Linked DNA regions of Homo sapiens: regions 2 and 3 are each linked to region 1. Evidence: promoter capture Hi-C in 16 types of primary human blood cells and fetal thymus (Javierre and others, 2016). All regions are on one chromosome and are shown on one strand. Each heading gives the region's core, a stretch centred on a gene start or on the middle of the fragment in contact. The rest is flanking DNA. Distances are from core to core; before and after follow the strand shown. Region 1 holds the start of ZNF786 (zinc finger protein 786). Region 2 overlaps ZNF746 (zinc finger protein 746). Region 3 has its middle 3.5 kb from the start of ZNF746.

Region 1 (3,839 bases), core at 1,296-3,795:
TTTTATTTTTAGTAGAGATGAGATTTCACCATGTTGGCCAGGCTGGTCTTGAATTCCTGACCTCAGGTGATCTGCCCACCTGGACCTCCCAAAGTGCTGGGATTACAGGTGTGAGCCACCACGCCTGGCCTGCCCAGGCTTATTTCAGGCAGTTTTTAAGGCAATTGAGATAATTTATTACTCATTAAAGTGCATAAAACTGCTTTTAGGTTCTTTCAACACATCACTGATTAAAGTTTGAGTATTGTATGTGTAACATTTCTCCCAATAAGCTCTGTGGTTTTTATTGCACAATTTTGCATAGCACTATGATTTTTAGAAATGCATATGCTGTATTATTGCAGAACTGAACGTATGTTTATACTTGTGTTAAAGATACTCATTCTCTCCTCTTCTCTGATTAAAATTCCTTACTTTTAAAACTTTTTTAATTTTTAGAAGTTTAAAAATCCAGAGAGTTACAGAGAAAACTATAAGCATCCTAGTATTCACCACTGACTTAACAAGTTTAACATTTTTCTTCAGAGTTCCTTTTAATGAAATAGAATGTGACCGGTGAAACTCAAGTTCTTGTGGTTCCTCTCTTCAATCATGTTCTGATATTGTCACATTCTCCTTCCTTTGTAAAGGCAAACATTATAAATAATATGGGAACTTTCCAGTTCATTTTAATACATATATGTATCTGTAAATATTCAGTATTACTTTGTGTCTTTTATACGTAAATACTTTATTATACTTGTATTCTTCCCTCAACATTTTGGGATCTGGCCCTGTTGAGTTTCTTTTTTTTTTTTTTTTGGAGACAGAGTCTTGCTCTGTCGCCCAGGCTGGAGTGCAGTGGCGCGATCTCGGCTCGCTGCAAGCTCCGCCTCCCGGGTTCTCCCGCCTCAGCCTCCCGAGCAGCTGGGACTACAGGCTCCCGCCCACACGCCCAGCTAATTTTTGTTTTTGTATTTTTAGTAGAGACGGGGTTTCACCGTGTTAGCTAGGATGGTCTCGATCTCCTGATCTCGTGATCCGCCCGCCTTGGCCTCCCAAAGTGCTGGGATTAGAGGCGTGAGCCACCACGCCCGGCCCTGTTGATCATATATGTAGCTAATTTATTTTAATTTTGTATAGTGTTCCACCGTCTGAATGTCACAAGTTTGTTTGTTTTTGAGATAGAGTCTCGCTCTGTCGCCCAGGCTGGAGTGCAGTGGCGCCATCTCAGTTCGCTGCAACCTCCACCTCCCGAGTTCAAGCAATTCTCCCTACCTCAGCCTCCCGAGGAGCTGGGATTACAGGCGTCCGCCACCACACTCAGCTAATTTTCGTATTTTTTAGTAGAGACAGTTTTTCGCCATGTTGGCCAGGCTGGTCTTGAACTCCTGACGTCAAGTGATCTGCCCACCTCGGCCTCTCAAAGTGCTGGGATTACAGGCGTAAACCACGGCGCCTGGCCTGAATGTCACAAGTTTTAAAATCCATTCTTTTACTCATTAATAATTTATTTTCAGGTCTGTGATTTGGCTGTTTATATCCTTTCCCCATATATATAGGTATGTATATATTTTTGGAGACGGAGTTTCGCTCTTGTTGCCCAGGCTGGAGTGCAATGGTGCAGTCTCGGCTCACTGCAACCTCCGTCTCCCGGGTTCAAACAATTCTCCTGCCTGAGCCTCCCGAGTAGCTGGGATTACAGGCGCCCGCCATCATGCCAGGCTAATTTTTTGTATTTTTAGTAGAGTTGGGGTTTCACCATGTTGGCCAGGCTGGTCTCGAACTCCCGACCTCACGTGATCCACCCGCCTCGGCCTCCCAAAGTGCTGGGATTACAGGCGTGAGCCACCGCGCCCGGCCTAATTCATTTAATAATCAGCAAAAATCCTCAACATTAAAGTTTACAAGATAAAAATACCCTCTAAACCTCGATTTTAAGAAACCACTAACTTAATTTTTTGTATCCTCTTCTACTCTTCCCAACGTATCATCTTACACTCAACCCAAATCACGCTAGACAATAAATTCTGACATTGAAGCCCCCGCCAAACACCATTTCAACCATTCGGAATCTTAAACTTTTTGGAACAGTTGTTCTGATTTCGGTGACTATGATGTAAAACTGGTTGACCTGTAACATCCACCTCTGGCCCCAAACCTTTCTATCCTTTCCACCGTCCGCTCCCCGTCCGCCCGGCATCCTCGCCCAGGCTCCGCCCCGCTCCTAGGTCGGCCTCGGTCCACGCTCGGCTTTGTCCAGGGGTTTGGCCACGGACAAGCCGCGGGAGCGGAGGCCACCTGCTCACCGCAGGGCCCGGAATCCACATCCCCAGCAGAAGCAGCCTGCAGACTCCGTCCTACCCGTGCACCGCGCGCACTCACGGGGACCCCAGGACACGGGCGAGCCCGGAACCCGAGGACCCACCACGACCCCGAAACCGGGCGTCCAAACAGGCTAGCCCGCTTACCCGAGGCGGCTCCGCCATGGTCCCCGCGGTCCCGCCCGGCCCTGGCAAACCCGACCGTCTCCGGCGGCTCCGCAGGAACCTGCCCTGCTGCGCACTGACTCCCCTCCGCTCCGCCCCAACCCGACTCCCACGCACAGCCCGGGTGGCCCCCAAACGCAGCGCCGGCCGGGCGCGGTGCATGCTGGGACCCGGCGCCCGGCCGCGGCTGCCGCTCAGTCCTACAGCGCCTCCTGCGGGAGGAAGAAGCGGCGCTGCCTGAGCGTCGGTCCTCAGAGGAGGGACCCAGGGGCCCGGGCGCCCTCAGAGCAGGCCGCAGCACGCCGGTCTTTGAGGGACCCTCGGATTCCCGGGATCTGGGGAGGGAAGCGGTCAGAGACAAGCTGAGGAGCTGGCCGGAGGGGAAACGGAGGGGCAGGACATGGAGAGATCAGGGACAGGGACAGGGAGAGATCAGGGACAGGGACAGGGAGACGCGCTCCACAGAAACCCAGACTGAGAGGCAGCGAGAGGGGAACCTCCGGTGCGGTTCCTCCCAAAGCCGCCCCCGAGACAGGCTTCGTCTGTGAGGGGGTCCCGGGAATCCAGCGAGGCCGGAAAGTGGGTGGGGGGCGCGCGCTGCCCGCGGTGGCCCGGGGCATCCGTCCCGCCGGGGGCGCGGAGGCCGTGGGGGCCCCATGCTTGTCCCGCCGGGGACGCGGAGGCGGGGTCCGCCCACCAGGTCCGGTCGCCGTGGGTCTAGAGCCCTCCGGGCTCCCCGGGCGGCCACGCTCCTTCCTTAGCAGAGAACGGCCTTGGGCAGAGACCCCATGCGGAAGCCACCCCGGCCTCAGGGCCGCCTGCAGGGACTCAGGGTGGCCCAAGGCTGCGGTCGGGCACCCCGGGCCCCGGCAGGAGACAGAGACAGAGTAGGAGGAGAAGACGGAGGAGGCCATGACACAGGGCGTGAGAAACACGAGAACGCAAGAACAGGGGAGAGGTGGGGAAACCAGGAAGAGACAGAAAGGAGAGAGGGCGAGGAAGGGGGTGGCGATTGTCTCCAGAAAATCAACCTCGCATTCTGTCTTAGTCATGTCTTAGGTGTCAGGCTGAAGTAGCAAAGGAAAAGTGTGTAGTTTGGAGAGGATGTGCATAAGAAATAAAATAGTCCCTGCGTAGGCTGAGGAGCATATACGCATCTGTGTTTGCCACAGAATCGTGAAATGTACATGCACCTTACTGTTTAACGTTTTTTATTTTTACAACTGTTATACAGTACAATTTTTTTTTTTTGGAGACAAAGTCTCACTCTTGTCACCCAGGCTGGAGTGCTGTGGCGCAATCTCGGCTCACTGCAACCTCTGTCTCCTGGATTCAAGCAATTCTCCTGCCTCAGCCTCCCGAGTAGCTGGG
Region 2 (3,550 bases), core at 78-2,577, 390 kb after region 1:
TGTATAGGGATGAAATAAAGATATTTTCACACATATAAACACATATAAACTCATATACACACACAAACTGAGGGCTCATTACCATCAGACCCACAAAAAATAACTTCTAAAGGAAGAAAAAATTTCTAAAGATTCCTCTATAACAATAGAAATAGAATACATAACTGTCAAATTAATTTAAAATAACAATAGTTTGAAAAGGAAAATACCTAAATGAATAATTCCCAAAGGAGAGGCAGGAAAAATACAGAAAAGGCAGAACTAAAGATTAACAGCACAATTTAAGATGGTAAAAAGAATCCAAATAAACTAATAACCATAATCAATGTAAATGGTCTAGACCAGAGCTAAGAAGAAAAAAGAATGTGAACCACATATCTAATTTTAAGTACTCTGGTAGTCATGTTAAAAAAGTAAGAACAGGTGAAATAAATGTTAACAGTACATTTTATTTAGCCCAAGATATAAAAAATGTTACTTCAACGTATAATCAATATAAAATGATTTATATTATTTTATACATGCATATTTTGTACTCACGGCTTGTTTTTGTACACGGTTTTTGAAATACGGTATGTATTTTATCCTTACAGCACATTTCAAGTGCTCAGTAGCTACAGGTGGATAGTGGCTACTGTTTGGATATTTAAAAGGTAAAGGTAAAGATTTTCAGACTAAAACCAAACAAATCCCCCAGCTATCTGCTGTTTACAAGAGACATACCTAAACAGAAGGACGCAGAAAGCAATGTAAAAGAATGAAAGATGTACTAAGCCAGAACAATGTAAAGAAATGATGTAGCTATACCATATCACATGAAATAAACTTTGAAAGTAAAAATATTCATAGAAATAAAAAGAATTACTGCATAATAGTAAACTAACCAGGAAGATAAAGTAATTCTAAGGTTTTTTTTTTTTTTTGAGATGGAGCCTTGCTCTGCTGCACTGGCTGGAGTGCAATGGTGCAATCTCGGCTCACTACAACCTCCACTTGCCAGGTTAAAGCAGTTCTCCTGCCTCAGCCTCCCGAGTAGCTGGGATTACAGATGTGTGCCACCACGCCTGGCTATTTTTTATATCTTTAGTAGAGACAGAGTTTTACCATGTTGGCCAGGCTGGCCTCAAACTCCTGACCTCAGGTGATCCACTCGTCTCAGCCTCCCAAAGTGTTAGGATTACAGGCGTGAGCCACTACACCCAGCCAATAACTCTAATTTTTTAAGCTTATCATATAGCTTCAAAATAATAAAGCAAAACTGATAAAACTCTAGGGAGAAATGAACAAATCCATCTTTACAGTAGGGGATTTTGATATATCTCTCTGTAATTGATAAATCTAGCCAACTAAAGGTTATATAAAATTTGAGCAACTCTACTAACAAACCTGATTAAAGGGACCTAAGCAGATTCCAAACACAGAGAAAACACAAGCTTTTTAAGCTACAGAGCGTTAAGGAAAAATGAACACTTTCTAGGTCATAAAACAGACTTCAGCAAAATTTAAACGACTAGTATTTTACACACTGCATTTTCTAGCTACAACACAATTAAGTTTGAAATCAATAACTCCCATACATACTAAAATTTTAAAATATACCGCTTTCTAAATAATCTGAGTCTAAGAAAAAAATCACAATGAAAATTAGAAGGTATCTGGAACCCAATATTAATGAAAATATTATCTATCAAAATGTATGGGCTACAGCTACAATGGTACTTAGAGGAAATTTTATAGCCTTGTATGTTTATATTAAAAAAGATAACACAGGGGCTGGGCGCAGTGGCTCACACCTGTAATCCTAGCACTTTGGGAAGCTGAGGTGGATCACGAGGTCAGGAGATCGAGATGATCCTGGCCAACATGGTGAAACCCCATCCCTACTAAAAATACAAAAATTAGCTGGGTGTGGTGGCATGTGCCTGTAGTCCCAGCTACTCGGGAGGCTGAGGCAGGAGAATGGCTTGAACCCGGCAAGTGGAGATTGCAGTAAGCCAAGATCGCGCCACTGTACTCCAGCCTGGCGACAGAGCGAGACTCCGTGTAAAAAAATAAAAAAAAAAACAAAAACACAGGTCAAAAATTAATGGGTTAAGCGTCAATGCAAGACATTAGAAAATAAATAACATTTAAGAACCTTTTCAAAAGTAGAAGGAAATAATACATATAAGAGTATCATAAATTAATAAAAGAGAAGACAAAGATAGAATATAGTTAGTCAAAGTTGGTTATTTGAAGAGACTGTTAAACCAATTCACCTCTAGCAAGGTTATCAAGAGAATGGGAGAGACAGCACCAATAACCAATTGGAAGAATGAAAAAGGGAACATAATGATAAATGCAGCAGAGATTTAAAAGATATAGAGGATATTATGAATGTTATTCCAAGTAATTTGAAAACTCTGGGGAAATGGACAAATTCCTAGGAAAATTTCAACCTGCCAAAACTAAAGAAGAAATAGAAAACCTGAATAGTCCTGTAACTAAAATAAATTACATCGGTAGTAAAAAATCTTCCCCACAAAGAAAACTTAAGGCTCAGGTGGCCCCACTGGTGTTTTCTACTAAATGTTGAAGGAATAGATAATTCCAACATTACAAAAACTCTCTGAAAATTAAAAACAGAATGAATACATCATAGCTCATATTTTTAATACCGAAACCAGACAAAAACAGTCTGAGAAAAGAAAATTACAAGCCCATCTCATCCATGAACAAAGATTCAAAAATCCTAAACAAAATAATTAGCATACAGCAATGTTCATAAAGGATCATGACAAAGTTAGGTTTATTCCAAGACTGCAAGGTTGGTTCAACATTAGAAAGTAACATAATTTACCTTACTAGCAGGTTAAGGAGAAAAAAATGTATAATCATCTCAATGGATACCAAAAGAAATTATATAAAATTCAAGTCATTACTGTTAGAAACACCTAGCCAAACACAGACATAGGAAACTTCTTTAGCCAGATAAAGGATATTTGTAAACAAAATCTTTAGCAAATATTATACTCAATGTGAAAAGTTAAAAAGTGTCCTCTTTAAAATCATGAACCAATAGGACACCTGTTATCATCATTTCTATTTAAGGATTTTCTGGGAGTTCTCAGTCAACACAATAAAACAAGAAAAAAAACCCATAAATATTTAAAAAGAAAAAAATTATTACTCATAGATATGATTAACTTTTCAGAAAAACTGAGAATGATTAGACAATTAATAGAAAGGTTATTAGCATTAATGAAAATTTTAGTAGGGTTCCTAGATCGTTATCAATAAATGAAAGACAACTACATTTTTATATATTAATACTGTGAGGTTTTTGAGAAAGCCTATCAGTTACAATTTTTCTTCCTTATCAAGGGTCTTAACAAACACAGAAAGAAAACAAAAGAGGAAGACAGGTGAGGCTAATCTATTTTTATTACTGATAATTCAGGGCATAATTCTGCATAAAGGGCAGGGACATTGGAATGCGCTCTTGTGATAGGAGAAAAAGCATTTGAAGAGGGGTATTCTCTGCCCTCAAGTCCCCAACAGCAACAAACAG
Region 3 (3,560 bases), core at 439-2,938, 410 kb after region 1:
ATATCTACTGAATCAAAATGTCTTTGGGATGGGTCCTGAGTAATGTGGAGAAAACTTATTTTAAAAGAAGGTCTCTTTTTAACAAGTTCCTTGTAGGGGTTGAGGTAAGGGTGAAGCTGGGGCTCTGCAGACAGCCAAGTTAGGGTAATGATGACTTGCTCTGTCCTCCACTGAAGACAGGCATCTATTGCAGAGCATCTCTGGTGCTGGTTTTCCAGCCTCTATTTGTAAAAAGAACGAAGATAAACCTCCTTGGATTGATATATGAGGCTTCCAAAGCCTTTCCCTCCATTTTGGGCACAGGTGTCAAAAGCAGGCATGAGAGTTTCCACTCCTGTGCCTTTCCTCATGCTTTTCCCCTCTCCTCTTGCCCACCCGAAGTTCTCACACCTTTTCCAGACCAGCATATGCCCTAATTCTTCCAGTTAAGTCTCTCCATGCCAATCACGGCTGCAGCAAGCTCTGCATTGTCCCAACTCTAATAATTTTTATTCTCGGTGCCATTCATATGGCACTGAGAAAAAAATTACAATACAAGGTAGTAGTTCCTAACTCACCTCTTGGATTATAAGTTCCCTGAGAGCAGGGACTATATCTTATTTCTCTTGTCTCTCCTGCAGTGCCTAATACTGGGCAGGTTTAGGCAACATAAAGTAATGATTTAGTACAAGTCTTAATTGATTGCTCTGTGTGGTGTGATCAACTGTGGTCCAAAGAATCATCCCCTCCTCTGCTCTAATACTTCTGCAGCCCCTACCATCTCCACCTTCCTGCTGAGTATTCCTAGAAGAAAAATCATAAAGCATTTTCAACACACCCAGAAGGAGCCTGGAAGGGCTAGAGAACATGAGACCACATGTCAACTCAAGGTGTCAGGGAGGCAGGAAGTGTGTGGTTCATACTGCACATAGACTGTGTAGATGTAGGGACTATGGACCCATGCACCCCTATGAGTGCTTCCTATACTCCAGCAGGTACAGCAGAACAGGTGGACCTCTATTTTTCCAGCTGCTCCCTTAGGCCTGAGCTTTTCCCCTGGGACCAGGCACACAGCCTAAAAGTTCAGGCTTGGGGTTTTCAAAAAGACTGTGGTAATCATTGCTGCCCACTAAATATTTCCAGCTGGTTTCTCTTGAAGACCATGGCTGGATGGCACTTCCTGGTTTCTTCTGGCTGGGTTGGACCATGTGACAAGTTCTGGCTGATGTTTTTTCTTTCCCTCTACTATGGTAACCCAGCAATATTTGAGGAGGTGGGTGCTGTATTTGCCTGCATCCTGGAGGTGGGGGACATTGAGTAGACTCCCCAGCCATCCCATGATGAGCTACTTACAGCATGAACATGAAACTTTTTGTTGTAACATGGTTTGGGGGTTGCTTGTTCCACAGTTTAACCTAGCCTATCCTGACAGATACAAAGGCATGGTGAAAGTTGGCCAGGCATTGCAGCAGGCATCCTTGGGCTCCAGGTGGTGTCTGCTCGAGCTTAACTTCCCTTACATTGTCTGAGTGCTCTCACATTGAGCGTTACCCTGCAGCGGTTAGATGTGGTGAAGTGCTGGAGAACTTGCAGCTGGCCCTGGAGTCTCTCCCATGGAGCCAGTGCCAAGTTCCTGCCTCAAATCCCTCAGTGAAATTTGCAGATGCGGATGGTCAGGGCCATGGCTCTGAGAAGCTACCTCCTTTCCTTCTGCTGGGAGCTGGGAGACTCACAGTCCTCTGGGGTTGGCTGGCTGGAGGCCAGTGCCTCAAAAATATTCTATACCAGAGCCCTTGAGTACAGAGAAAAGTGAATGTATGTCCTGTGGGTCTGGACGCTGCCTGAAATGGCCCTTGGTGAGCCAGAAGGTGTGATAAATTGTCATACTTTAACAATCCATTAAATCTTGTCTCCTTTATAAAACTTCTGTGCTTGTTTTAATTTTAAAAGATTATTTTGATTTATTGACCAGAGTAAAAAATTTATTTGATGTTTCAAAACCCCTCTCTTGCTCCTGAAATGGGAACAATTCCCTCATCCGCCTCTCAGGGTGTGAGATGGGGGCTGCAGCTCACTTTGTCAGTGCCCCGCTGCTCAAACCTCTAGCGGGAGCATGTAGGCAGGCAGGCTGTGGGGCTTATCACAAGGACAGAGGGCTTTCTGTATCCTGGGGTTCTTGCCTTAGTGTGCCAGAAAAATTAGATCACGCGTGGGCTTGGGGGATGGGTGCAAGGCTTTTTATTAAGTGGTGGCAGCTCTCAGTGAGGTGGATGGAGAGGCCAGAAGGAGGATGGAGTGGGAAGGTGGCCTTTCCCTGGAGTCAGGCCACCCAGTGGCCGGGCCCTCCTCCGACTGGCCTCTGCTGAACTCCGTGTCGTCCCGTCATAGATGGCCTGCCGGCGTCTGCTGGTGTCTGCCCGTGTGTTCTTCTGCTGTTGAGTTCCTCTCGATGTCCAGCTGCTCGTGTCCGTGCCCACTAGGGTCTCAGGATGTTTAAAGGCACAGGATGGGGTGTGTGGCAGGCCAGGGTGGTCTTGGAAATGCCACATTTAGCCACAGAAACAGAAATACCTGTCCTCACCTAGGTCAGTGGGCACAGGCCTGAGGGTAGAGCCTTTGCCAGGGACCCTGCCTTTCTCTACCCAGCACTTTCCTGCCTCCCTCCTGTATCACTCCCACATCCCTCCTCACCCTGGACCTCCCTTTCAGGGGGTCCGTGCCTCCGTCTGAGAAGCATAGCTCCAGGCATCTCAGGTGTTGCTGAGTTTCCACCATGATGGCATCACCCTCTGCCAACCTGGAGGTAAGATCCTGATGTGGCATTAGAAAGCCAGGGGCAAGGTGGGCAAGTGGCAGATGTGTGGAGGAAGTTTCAGTGCCCTGGCATCCATGATTGCCTTTCAAGTTTTCTAGAAGCGTCCATAGCCTCAGTTATTCTGATATGGTGATGTTAAAACCTGCCTACACCTAGGGTGTTTATGACTGACAACAGCTTAGAGAGTGACCCGTCCCAGGGCCCTGGCATCTTCTCTGGGGTCAGAACTTTGAGCGACAGGAATGAACAACAGGGCATTCCAGACGCCCTCAGCAGAGTGCAAGTCTCTGCACCTGAGCTCTCCAGGGCAGGAGTGAGGTCACCTTGCGCCAGTGGAGGTGAGGTGGATGGTAAAAGAATATAGGAGGCCCTTCCATATTTGGAGCAAACTCCAAATATGGAAATATGGAAAAATCCAGACATAAGAAACAAGCATCAGAGTTTTGTTTTTAGATTCATTAAAAATTTTTAATAACTAAAGTTATTGAATTCTCCCATAACTAAAATCTCCACAGCTTTTGAAAATAGTGTTCTAGGTACAAAAATTAGATTTCTCAAGGAGTACTTACTGTGCAGAACATGGCCCACCCCAGCAATATTATTAATTATAATAGAAACAAGCTTATTACTCAGGTGCTGACTCATATTTACAAGAGATTTTGAAGTTTTATAGGTCTGACCTTTGAGTTGTCAATTTTTGAGGACCTCACAATAGTCTCTCATGGCTTTCAGAGTGGGGGAAGCCTGTCACATCAAAGCCTAGCCA

The links. Contacts are between HindIII fragments. The CHiCAGO score rates a contact against its expected background, and 5 or more counts as called.
Region 2: a contact is called between a fragment that was not itself captured here and the fragment with the promoter of ZNF786 in region 1, in 1 of 17 cell types (monocytes). The highest score is 5.3, in monocytes.
Region 3: a contact is called between a fragment that was not itself captured here and the fragment with the promoter of ZNF786 in region 1, in 2 of 17 cell types (non-activated CD4 T cells and total B cells). The highest score is 5.6, in non-activated CD4 T cells.

The regions. Positions count from the first base shown.
Region 1 is chr7:149,088,173-149,092,011 of GRCh38, forward strand. ZNF786 (zinc finger protein 786) reads right to left here and starts at 2,546. Exons shown (of 4, transcript NM_152411.4): 1 at 2,451-2,546. The coding sequence starts at 2,468. RefSeq lists silencers at 2,488-2,787, 2,908-3,397. The HindIII fragment of the contact is 38,912 bases long and covers 1-3,839 here.
Region 2 is chr7:149,481,560-149,485,109 of GRCh38, forward strand. All of the region lies in intron 4 of ZNF746 (zinc finger protein 746), which reads right to left. Among named protein-coding and RNA genes, the nearest start is that of ZNF746, 14 kb to the right of the region's middle. The HindIII fragment of the contact is 208 bases long and covers 1,224-1,431 here.
Region 3 is chr7:149,499,515-149,503,074 of GRCh38, forward strand. No RefSeq gene overlaps it. Among named protein-coding and RNA genes, the nearest start is that of ZNF746, 3.5 kb to the left of the region's middle. The HindIII fragment of the contact is 3,449 bases long and covers 1-3,413 here.